3 separate regions of the Homo sapiens genome follow, and all the other regions are linked to region 3. The links are contacts of gene promoters, found by promoter capture Hi-C in blood cells and fetal thymus (Javierre and others, 2016). All regions are on one chromosome and are shown on one strand. Each heading gives the region's core, a stretch centred on a gene start or on the middle of the fragment in contact. The rest is flanking DNA. Distances are from core to core; before and after follow the strand shown.

Region 1 (3,290 bases), core at 94-2,593, 770 kb after region 3:
AAGTTTTTCTCTTAAGTGGAAATTAAATACCTTAGATTTAGTTTAAAAAAAAAACTTTTTCAGTACTATTTAACATTCATCTTTTCCATTACTTGTGTAGAATCTAGTATAGTGATTAATTAAGACCTTAAAGGTTTATTCAGTGTGTAGTCTTCTTATGCTTTAATTTGGAAATTCTTCCAGATCTGCAGCTTATTTATGAATGTGTGAATTTTCTGTGTTCCTAATCCATTTCCTGTCTCTTTTCTTTCTGTTGCTTCAGTGCAGAGTAGAAGAGGTGAGGCATTTAATTTTTTTAATGGTTTTTGCTAGAGAATTGGGGGCTCTCAAATAGCACGTAAATATTTTACGTCAAGTTTAATGAGTAATGGAACAATTTTTCTTACTACATTTTATTAGAAAAACTACCCAGTATAACTTGAAAGAATAAACCTAAAATATTACCCGACAATTTATTTTACAGATACATTTCAGTTTTATTACATATTCAGTTAAAATACTAACCTTTATAAAAGAATATAGAAATGTTTCTTCAATTGTAGGACATTTTAAAAATGTTTATTATAAAACCAATGCAGCCTCATTATAAAAAATTAAATAGTACAGAAGTGAAAAAAATAAGTCAATTCCTGACTTCATTAATCCTATTTATTTATTTATTTATTTATTTATTTGAGATGGAATCTTGCTCTGTCGCCCAGGCTGGAGTGCAGTGGCATGGTCTTGGCTCACTGCTACCTCCGCCTCCTGGGTTCGAGTGATTCTCCTGCCTCAGCTTCCCAAGTAGCTGGGATTACAGGCACGTGCCACCACGCCCGGCTAATTTTTTTTGTATTTTTAGTAGAGACAGGGTTTCACCATGTTGGCCTGGCTGGCTTCGACCTCCTGACCTCAAGTGATCCGCTAGCCTCGGCCTCCCAAAGTCCTGGGATTACAGGCGTGAGCCACCACGCCCGGCCCTATTTTTCATAAATGGTATTATGTTTATATTTTCCATTAATTTCTATATATCTATAAGCATATACGCCTATTGTTTTTATGTGAGTATTTAGTTCAGATTGCATCATGCTGTCTACAACTTCAGTTTTCATACCTTGGATGTCTCTTTGTAGTAACTACATAAATATTTACTAAACTGTTTTTTTACAACTAGACAATATTATTTTATATATATATGTATGTCATGATAGATTAAACCTGTTCTGTATTGGAAGGATATTGGTTACTTTTATTTTTTCACTCCTACAGATGATACTGTAATGAATATTCTTATATATAAATTTATAGGATAACTTCTTAAAGGTAGAGTAACTAGGTCTAAGATTAAATACACTGAATTTTTATGGAAGGGACCCCATTTCCCTCCTAAAAGGGGAAAAAAAGGTAGTGCCAATTTATGTTCTCAACCATGCACAATATTGCCTATTTAATCTGTCGGTATGATATAAAATGAGTGTCTTACTGTTTCATTTGCATTTCTTTAAGAATGAGGTTCAGCTCCTTTATACATATTCATAGTTGACCCTTGAAAGACACAGGTTTGAACTGCTTGGGTTTCACTTTATATACAGATTTTTTCAATATAATTGACCCTCGGTATATTGGTGGGTTCCACATCTGCAACCAAAAGCAGATAAAAAATACAATATTTGGCCAGGCGTGGTGGTTCACACCTGTAATCCCAGCACTTTGGGAGGCTGAGGCAGGAGGATCGCCTGAGCCCAGGAGTTTGAGACTAGCCTTGGCAACATAGTGAGACCCCATCTCTACAAAGAATGAAAAAAAAATACATGTGTTGACGTGCGCCTAGGCTGAGGTGGGAGGATTGCTTGAGCCTGGTAGGTCCGTGATTGCTCCATGATGGTGCCACTGCACTCCAGCCTGGGTGACAGTGAGACTCTGTCTCAAAAGAAAAGGTGGGGGTGGGGAGGAAAGGAAATCATTGAGGAGCTAAGCTCTGAGGACGCAGAGGCATAAGAATGATATAATGGACTTTTGGGACTCGGGGAAGGGTAGGAGGGGGGTGAGGGATAAAAGACTACACATGGGTTATCGTATACACAGCTTGGGTGATGGATGCGCCAGAGTCTCAGAAGTCACCACTAAAGAACTTACCCATGTAGCCAAACACCATCTGTCCCTCAAAACTAGTGAAATAATAGTAAAATAAAATCTATTAAAAAAAAAAAAAGGAAATCACAGTTTTTGCAGGATACCAAACCTAAGTACAGGGAAGGCTTTTTGTATCCACCGGTTCCTCAGTGCTGACAGCGGAACTTCAGTATGCCTGGATTTGGGTGGGGTTGCCGTGGGGGAGTAGTCCTGGAACTAATTTCCTGCAGATAATAGAGATGACTGTATTGGCTAGGGTTTCTTTTCCTGTGAATTGGCTGTTCAGGTCCTTTTCCATTTTTAAATTGTTTTCTCTACTGCTTTCTGTGAGCTAGCTGTCTCTTTCTGTGAGCTAGCTGTCATATTGCAGTATAGCAGTTGCTTTATGAAAGGTGGGTTCAAAGTAACAAGAGCACAGGAGGAGGTCAGCACTAGACCCGAGTCTTGAAAGGTTGGGTGAGAAGGAGTCTTTAAGGTTTTATGAGCTATGCTAACAACTTTTGACTCCTAGGTCAAAGAGCCACTTTAAAGGAGAGGAATTACAATTGTGTTTTAAAAATTATGGTAAGCTGGGCATGGTGGTGTGCACATGTAGTCTCAGCTACTGGAAATGTTAAGGCAGGAGGATCGCTTGAGCCCAGAAGTTCGAATCCAGCCTCGGCCACATAGCAAGTCTCCCATCTCTAAGAGAAAAAAAAGAAAAGAAAGGAAAAATTAGGATCACTTTGTGGAGGACTGCAAAGGAGCTGCTGGAAGCAGGGTTACCAGTTCCGCGATTTCAGTAAAGCACAGAAGTCACTGGGGCCTAAGCAGAGGCAGTGGTGATAGGAGTAAAAGGGAGTAGAAGGATGTTTCACAGGTGGAGTAGATGGGGTTTTTTATGACTGGATGTGTTAGTGAGGGAGGAATGAAAGAGCATTCTGAACTTAGGCAACTGGGTGAAAGCTGATCCCATTAATGTCCCATAATCTAGGAAAGAGAAGCATGGAAGGATGAGGAGAGATGTGTTTGGATTAGCTATGCTGAGTGTGAAAAACCTTTGGGACTCCCAGATAAGGATGTCCAGGAAACATTTGAAAGTTCTGTTTCAGAGCACAAGTGAATCAAGATTTGGAAACATTGGGACATATAGCATCAGTGGTAGCTCAAGTCATGGGAGCTACACATCTGTTTTTTTT
Region 2 (3,656 bases), core at 84-2,583, 750 kb after region 3:
CCTGAAGCGGAAACAATGCAGGAGTAGAACAGCAAATGTCCTAGGTCAGTAGTGTATGGAATCTGGAACCAGATAGCCTTGTTCAAATCTTGCATCTGCCGTTTGCTAGCGTTTTGAAGCTTTGAGTAAATTACTAACCTCTCTGGGTCTGTTTTCTCCTCAGTAAATAATATCCAGCTCATAGAGAGGTTTAGAAAATTAAATGAAAAAGCACAGCTCTAAGGAGGTGATTGACAATAGTAAGCATATGATTTATTTCCTCATCTTTATGACATCTCACTCTGGTCCAGACCAAGATTACTTAATATTCAGATTAATTTCATGAACTGCTATATTACTCCAGCAACTCAAATCCAAAATAGATGAAAAGGAAACTAAAGAAAACTGGACAGCCATTGCTGCACCTATTGTATAGTTACAAATGCTGACTACATACCAAAACACTGTTTAGGTGACTTATAATTCTGGAATGTCACATACGAATTTAAGAATTGCTGGCCAGGCGCAGTGGCTCACACCTGTAATCCCAGCACTTTGAGAGACCCAGGCGGGTGGATCACCTGAGGTCAGGAGTTTGAGATTAGTCTGGCCAACATGGTGAAACCCCCGTCTCCAGTAAAAATACAAAAATTAGCCGGGCGTAGTGGTGCGCGCCTGTAGTCCCAGCTGCTTAGGAGGCTGAGGCGGGAGAATCGCTTGAACCCGGGAGGCGGAGGTTGCGGTGAACAGAGATGGTGCCACTGAACTCTGGCCTGGGCGACAGAGCAAGACTTCGTCTCAAAAATAATAATTTAAGAATTGTCATTACTTAACCATGGGAGAGGGTGTGGGCAGACAGGGGACAAAGATTTTCCACTGTGTATTTTCATGGTTTTTCCTTTGAACAATGTCCTCTCTTCCAACAAAATTTTTTGCTTTTAAGTGCCACATAAAGGCAGCTCATGTTCCTTACATCGCCGTTATCAAGAGGATCGTCATTCAAATAAAGTAACCACTGACAATGCTAATTAATTGGAAGTAAAGAACTGGGCGGAAAGAACGGCTAACCGCAAGCTGCCGGGTCGCAACTGCGGCGGAAGGCGGACTCTCGCGGGAGCCACAAAGAGGCAGCAGCCGGCCACGTGACTTCCCGGTGGCCTGCTCTCCCCACCTCTCCGCGCTGAGCAGCCACGTCGGCGGCGGTCCCTGGTCCAGGGAGGGGCGTGGCAAAGGCCCGTGCGCGGTACGTGTCCCGCCCCTCGCTGCCCGGAGCCCGGATGAAGAGTAACGCCATTACCGCCGGAGCCGCCGAGAGCCTTAGCCGACGGAAACTGGACACTGGACCGGCAGCGCCATGAGACTCCTCCCCCGCTTGCTGCTGCTTCTCTTACTCGTGTTCCCTGCCACTGTCTTGTTCCGAGGCGGCCCCAGAGGTGAGGCTGGGGGAGTGTGCGGAGGGGATGGCCAGGAAGGAGATGCCAGTGATGGCAAGTTTGAAGTTGGAGGCGGTGGCCGCTCCGGGTCCTGGGGTCCGCGTCCACCCCGCTGGCCTCTCTCCGCCCTCTCCCCAAGCCTAGGCTCGTAGCAGCAGGGGTCCCCGCGGGCGCTGGAGACCCCGCTGCGGCCTGCCCCTTGCACGCGGAGCGCGGGGCCGTGCCCGGGCGACCTTGCTTCGTGGCCGGCCGAGGGCTGGGCTTGCTCCTCTTGCCCTGGACCCTCGCCTGCAGGAGCGGCCAGAACTGGAGGGTCCTCGGCTGCAGGAGGAGGCGCTGGACACGGCTGCGCTCCGAGCGCGCCGCAGCCGGGCTGTTTCTTTTGGCCACCTCCGGCTCCGCTCCACCCCCAGCCCCTCGCGCTCAGGGCTGACGTGTCTTTAGCTTCCACGCCGGGAGTCCGTCTTCATTCATTTGCCAAAACCCTTGTTTTCTACACATCTAAGCCATCAGAGTGTCTTGTTCAATGGTCATCTGCCTTGTTCACGCCCTGCTTGACCCGTATGTGTTACTAGGAGGCTTGATTTCAGAAAAACTACCCCATCGTCACCCCCGTTATCCGCCCCTGCTGCCAAGCAGACTGAAGAATCCCTGTGGGATGTCTCCCTTCTGCCTTCTTCCTCTTCTTGTCTTTCCATGGAACAATTTTTTGTTTGTGGAAACATCGTATTGTGCTGAAAAAATGTGGCCTACTTCGAGTGTTTTTAATACATAGATTTATTCTTTCAACAATTAACCCAGCAATTAAGTGTGAAAATAACTTAGCAGAATATAAAAATATGGCAACTTGACTTCCTGCACAGGTTTTGTCGTGAACTTCGACTTTCTAATTTGTAAAGTGAAATAATTAGTCTGACTAAGCATCCCTTTCATTCTGTAAGTTTAAGCAAGCTGTGTGTCTTAACGGTAGTGACAGGTATTCACGAGTTGTTTTGCGATGAAAAGTGAAGTGACTGGCTTCTGTTTAATGGCTAGAAAACCAAGTGGGAGAATTAAACAACTGTTAATGAGTTAATCTGCAGGTTTAACAAGATTTTTTACTTTAGGAGTCGTTTGCTGGTACTCTTTAAGCTTTTTAAAAGAAAACTTGACAAATGTAGTTTTAGTTTTAGAACTATTTATAACTATTTTCAAGTTATAAAAACTTTCAAGAAGCATGAATTCATTATCTAAACTGAATTAATATCTTGTAAACATTTTTTGTGAGAAACGGTTTTTGTGTTTGGTTTTTCCAGTTGAATGAAGACTGTTAGACTTCATGGGGACAAAATTGTTATTGGTTAACATTAAAATAATAAAATTGTTTAATATTTATGAAAGGCCTTTATATTCCAAAGTGCTCAAATTTAACCACGACTTTAAATTACTATATCAGACATGGTATTTTTCTTACTGGTTTTTGAAAAGGACTTGTAAGTTATGAATGCACTATTTTAGGCTTTGTTCAGCAGGCAGTGAAATCTCTTTAGTTCATAATGCATGGTTCAGTGTTCTTTAATATTTTGCAATAAATCTTAGCAGCCAGTGAGAACTTAAAGACATGGAAAAGACTGCAAATGCATGGTCCTTAACTGTTTCTCCTGGGTGAAAACACGCTTCCCTTCCCATGTTTTTTATCCACAGAATTGCCACATCATCATTTTTTCTGAGAGATGTTGGAAGACACTAGAACTTTGAAATTCTTTTTATGGTCTTGCCTGAAATAGATATAATGTGACTTACTTAGAGTACTATTGTCTATAAAACTGTGATTCACCTTTTTTTTGCATTATACCTGTACTTTGTAACACTAAGTTTGAGAAAAAATATCTTAAAACATGTTTGAAGCCACATGCAAAAATAATTGGATTCTTTCTTTGCTATCAAACCTGAAGCTACCAATACAGTTTTTACTAAACAATGTTTTTCATGCAAGCCAGTTTTTACCATGGATATGATTACAGATATTTGTTCCTTGGCTTACAAACTATCCAGTTCTAAGAGTTTCAGCTGTAGTCACCTCTGATAACAGTGTTTCCTACATAGAACATTAGAACTTAAGAATGCTTTATTTTTTTATTTTTATTTTTTTGAGACGGTGTCTTGCTGTGTCGCCCAGGCTGGAGTGCAGTGGTACAATCTTGGCTCACTGCAACTTCTGCCTCCTGGGTTCAAGCGATTCTCCTGCCTCAGCCTCTGGAGTAG
Region 3 (3,494 bases), core at 702-3,201:
TTCAGTGTTGGCTCCCCTGCAGGCTGCATGAGGAAAGGAAAAGGCTGCATTAGTCTTGTTCACCACTGTGTCTTAGCTCCTAGCACTATGCTGGGCACGTAGCAGCTGCTCAATAACGTATTTGTTAAATGTTTTTGAATGAAAAAATGAAAAGCCCATGTGGCCTGTTAAAGTTAATATGGCTTCTCTCTCCCTTCTCTCCAAATCTCCCTTCCCCACTCTCTCTTCACCCACCACCTATGCTTAAACACATACACAGAGACACAGAGGCAGTTGTTTCTGCCACATACAAGTCAGGCAGTCATTTAACCTCTCTGTGCCTCAGCCTCCTCGTCTGTAAATGAGGACATTAATAATAACTACTTCAAAGGCCGGCCATGAGGATTAAATGAATGCAAATTTGTAGACCACTTACAGTATTACCTGGCATGTAGCAAGTGCCATGTAAGTGTTTGTTAAACTGCAGTGCTATCCGAAGTTAGCACAGACTTCAGAGGTCAAAGCATGGTCCTCCTCAAGACTCCCCTTCAGACACCTGCCACAAGCTTTGGGGTTCCCAGGCCACCTGCACTTCTGACCAGCTGTCTCTGTCATATGCCCAGGGCCTGAGCACTGTCTGCTAGGGTGCCTCAGTTCTCACCCACGCAGCTTCTCTCTACACATGATGTTTCATTGCTATTCGCTTTACTCCCTCAGGTTTCACAGAATGACTCATAGAACTCAAGAAAGTGCTTTCCTTGCTATTACAGTTTTATTATAAAGGACACATATCAGGACCAGCCAAATGAAGAGATGTATAGGGCGAGATGTGGGAGATTTCCCAAATAGAAGCTTACGTGTCCTCAGGAACGCTTCCCCCTCCTGACACTTTGATGAATGATTATCGACCAGTAAGCTCACCTGAGCTTCCACATCCAGAGTACTCACTGGGGTTCCATTATGTAGGCATAGTTGGTTAAATCACTGGCCACATGGCTGAACTCAGTCTCCAGCCCCAATCTGCTCCCCAGAGGTGGGCCTGCTTATGTGACTCAAAGCCTAAGCCCTCATGGTTGGCCGGCCCTTCTGGTGTGGCCAGCCTCCATTCTGAAATCATCTTGGGCCCTCCATGAGCCATCTCATTAGCATAAACTCAGGTGTATTTCCAGAGGCCCACCATGAATAACAAAGACACTTCTATCACTTGGGAAATTCTAAGGATTGAGGGTACCTCCCAGGAACCAGAGTCAAAGTCCAGTCAAATTCTTTATTATACAACGTGAGTTTACTGACTTGAACAGAAAGAGGGAGCAAGAGAAGCATTCTAGGAAACAGGTGTCTAAAAAGAAAGGCAGGAATAGTCAGCCACACTCATGGCATAGTAGGGAAACAGCCCCCAGCTAATTGGCTTTGCTATACAGTAGTCCCCCCTTATCTGAGGTTTCACTTTCTGTGGTTTCATTACCCGCAGGACGGTACAATAAGATATTTTGGGAGAGAGACTACATTCACATAACTTTTATTAAATTGTTCTAATTGTTCATCTCTTACTGTGCCTAATTTATAAACTTTATCATATGTATATACAGGAAAAAACATAGTATATACATGGTTCAGTACTATATGCAGTTTCAGGAATCTACTGGGGGTCTTGGAATGTATTCTCAGCAGATATGGGAGGACAACTGTACTGGAATGCACCAGCTTTGAGCCAAATAACCAGGGCTCTGAGTTTAGCTCCAAAGTTCAAGCACCTTCCTATTCTAGCAGCATCCGCCCTGATCCAGCATGGCGGCAAGAGCTTCTGCCAGTTCACAGCCTGACTACACGGCAGGCGCCTTTCCGGAACCGCCCGCTGGGTAGATTAAATTTCTCCGGCGCCCTGTAATGACACACACACAAAAAAAACCCGGGCGCGCCTTGTAAGAGGGCGGCCGGGTTTGCGCAGGCGCAGCGTGGCCGCGGGTGGGCGGAACTGGTCGGGATGAGTGGCGGAGGGACAGAGACCCCTGTGGGTTGTGAGGCCGCCCCGGGCGGTGGCAGCAAGAAGAGGGACTCCCTGGGGACTGCGGGCTCAGCGCACCTCATTATCAAGGGTACGGAGTGTCAGGGCTATAGTTCCTGGTGGATCCCAGCACAGCCTCATCTCCCAGGCGGCGCCCTCTGACCCGGGCCGACCCCCGGGTCCCGGGCTGGCGCGCGTGCGTTTGTGCGGGTGGGGGAGTCGTGGTCGGTCCCCGCCTTTTTCCCCGCGCCAAATGCGTCCCACCACAACCAACCAGCCCAACTCTTCGTGTTTCCCCGCTTTCCTCTGTCGCAGCCTGAGCCATCAGGCCCGCCCCCGTCCATTCCGCAAGCTCAGGACCCCTGGGCGCAGAGCCTTTGGGCAGCCTCGCCACCGACGTGTAGTGGAAAGGGCATTGGACCTGGGAGGCGGGAGGCAGTCGCTTAGGAGTTGAGTGACTTCGGGTCACTGGCTTTACTCACTCTCCTACCCGATCTGTTCCTGGTCGTGCGAGGAGTAAGTGAGATACACTTACGAAGGCGCTCTATAGCACTGTAAAGAACCATTCACGTTCAGAAATGTCCATGTGTTCTGTGTGCTTTGAGCTGGGAGAAGGTTACAACCTAGATTCTCACAGAATCTGCTTTAGGTTTGACTCCTAAAGCTCACAACGCTGTTTGCTGCGTGAAAGTCTTTGACAGTTGAGTTGTAGTGCTTTATATATACCAGATATAAAGTGCTTATATACAGTGCTTGTATTATTTTTTCTACTTGACATGCTTAAGAAGATATGTACTAATAAAATTCATTAAAATAGAGAATTGAAACCTGCCCATCGTATGTCTGCAAAAATGAAAAATTTGGGGAACATTGCCAGTGAATGAATATGAATAATACATTGTCTTAGATTTAATTTCTCAAGGAATTTTGAGACTTACATTTTAAACTACATAGTTGTAACTAAGAAGAATAATAAACTGACTCACCAAAAGACTTAAATTCAGACCTTTTCTTAATGACTTTTTCAGACTTATGAAAAAGAGACTTACAATGAACATTCACCACCCACCTTAATAAATAAATTACTAAAAGCCCCACTGTGTCTTGCTCTAATTGCACTAGTTCCCCTCCCTCGTCTCAAGGTAGCCACTATCCAGAATTTGGTGTTTATTATTCTTGTGCATTTCTTTATAGTTTTGTTGCTTCTGTCTATATCCCAAAAGGAAATATTTTGAATATTTTAAAGTTTTATGTAAATTGCTTTAATCCTTCTGAAACTTGCTTTTTTATTATATTTATTATAAAATACGTATTATTTTTTATATTTATGTTGATAAGTGTAACTCTGATGTATTTATTTTTACTTGGTGATTGATAGAATTCCATTGTATGAGTATGGTTAAGGTGTTTTGCGTTTTTTCTTTTGATATTACACCTATGCTGTAATAAATATGTATAAATGGCCTTACTCATTTGTGCAAGAGTTTTCCAGGGTACATACCTAGGCATG

The links. The method cuts DNA at HindIII sites, captures the fragments that hold promoters and counts their contacts. A CHiCAGO score of 5 or more calls a contact.
Region 1: a fragment that was not itself captured here is called in contact with the fragment with the promoter of BLOC1S5 in region 3 in 4 of 17 cell types (naive CD8 T cells, total CD8 T cells, total CD4 T cells and 1 more); the score reaches 6.5 in naive CD8 T cells.
Region 2: a contact is called between a fragment that was not itself captured here and the fragment with the promoter of BLOC1S5 in region 3, in 8 of 17 cell types (non-activated CD4 T cells, total CD8 T cells, naive CD8 T cells and 5 more). The highest score is 15.1, in non-activated CD4 T cells.

Annotation. Positions count from the first base shown.
Region 1 is chr6:7,292,075-7,295,364 of GRCh38, reverse strand. The region is part of intron 7 of SSR1 (signal sequence receptor subunit 1); the gene reads left to right. Among named protein-coding and RNA genes, the nearest start is that of SSR1, 19 kb to the left of the region's middle. The HindIII fragment of the contact is 8,134 bases long and covers 1-3,290 here.
Region 2 is chr6:7,310,798-7,314,453 of GRCh38, reverse strand. It overlaps SSR1 (signal sequence receptor subunit 1), which reads left to right and starts at 1,255. Exons shown (of 8, transcript NM_003144.5): 1 at 1,255-1,412. The coding sequence starts at 1,334. RefSeq lists enhancers at 880-939, 950-1,019, 356-1,222, 1,223-2,091 and silencers at 1,510-1,619, 1,750-1,799. The HindIII fragment of the contact is 2,424 bases long and covers 122-2,545 here.
Region 3 is chr6:8,062,846-8,066,339 of GRCh38, reverse strand. BLOC1S5 (biogenesis of lysosomal organelles complex 1 subunit 5) reads left to right here and starts at 1,951. Exons shown (of 5, transcript NM_201280.3): 1 at 1,951-2,075. The coding sequence starts at 1,964. BLOC1S5-TXNDC5 (BLOC1S5-TXNDC5 readthrough (NMD candidate)) reads left to right here and starts at 1,926. Exons shown (of 13, transcript NR_037616.1): 1 at 1,926-2,075. All of the region lies in intron 3 of EEF1E1-BLOC1S5 (EEF1E1-BLOC1S5 readthrough (NMD candidate)), which reads left to right. RefSeq lists enhancers at 368-517, 528-627, 2,318-2,507, 2,117-2,743. The HindIII fragment of the contact is 8,031 bases long and covers 834-3,494 here.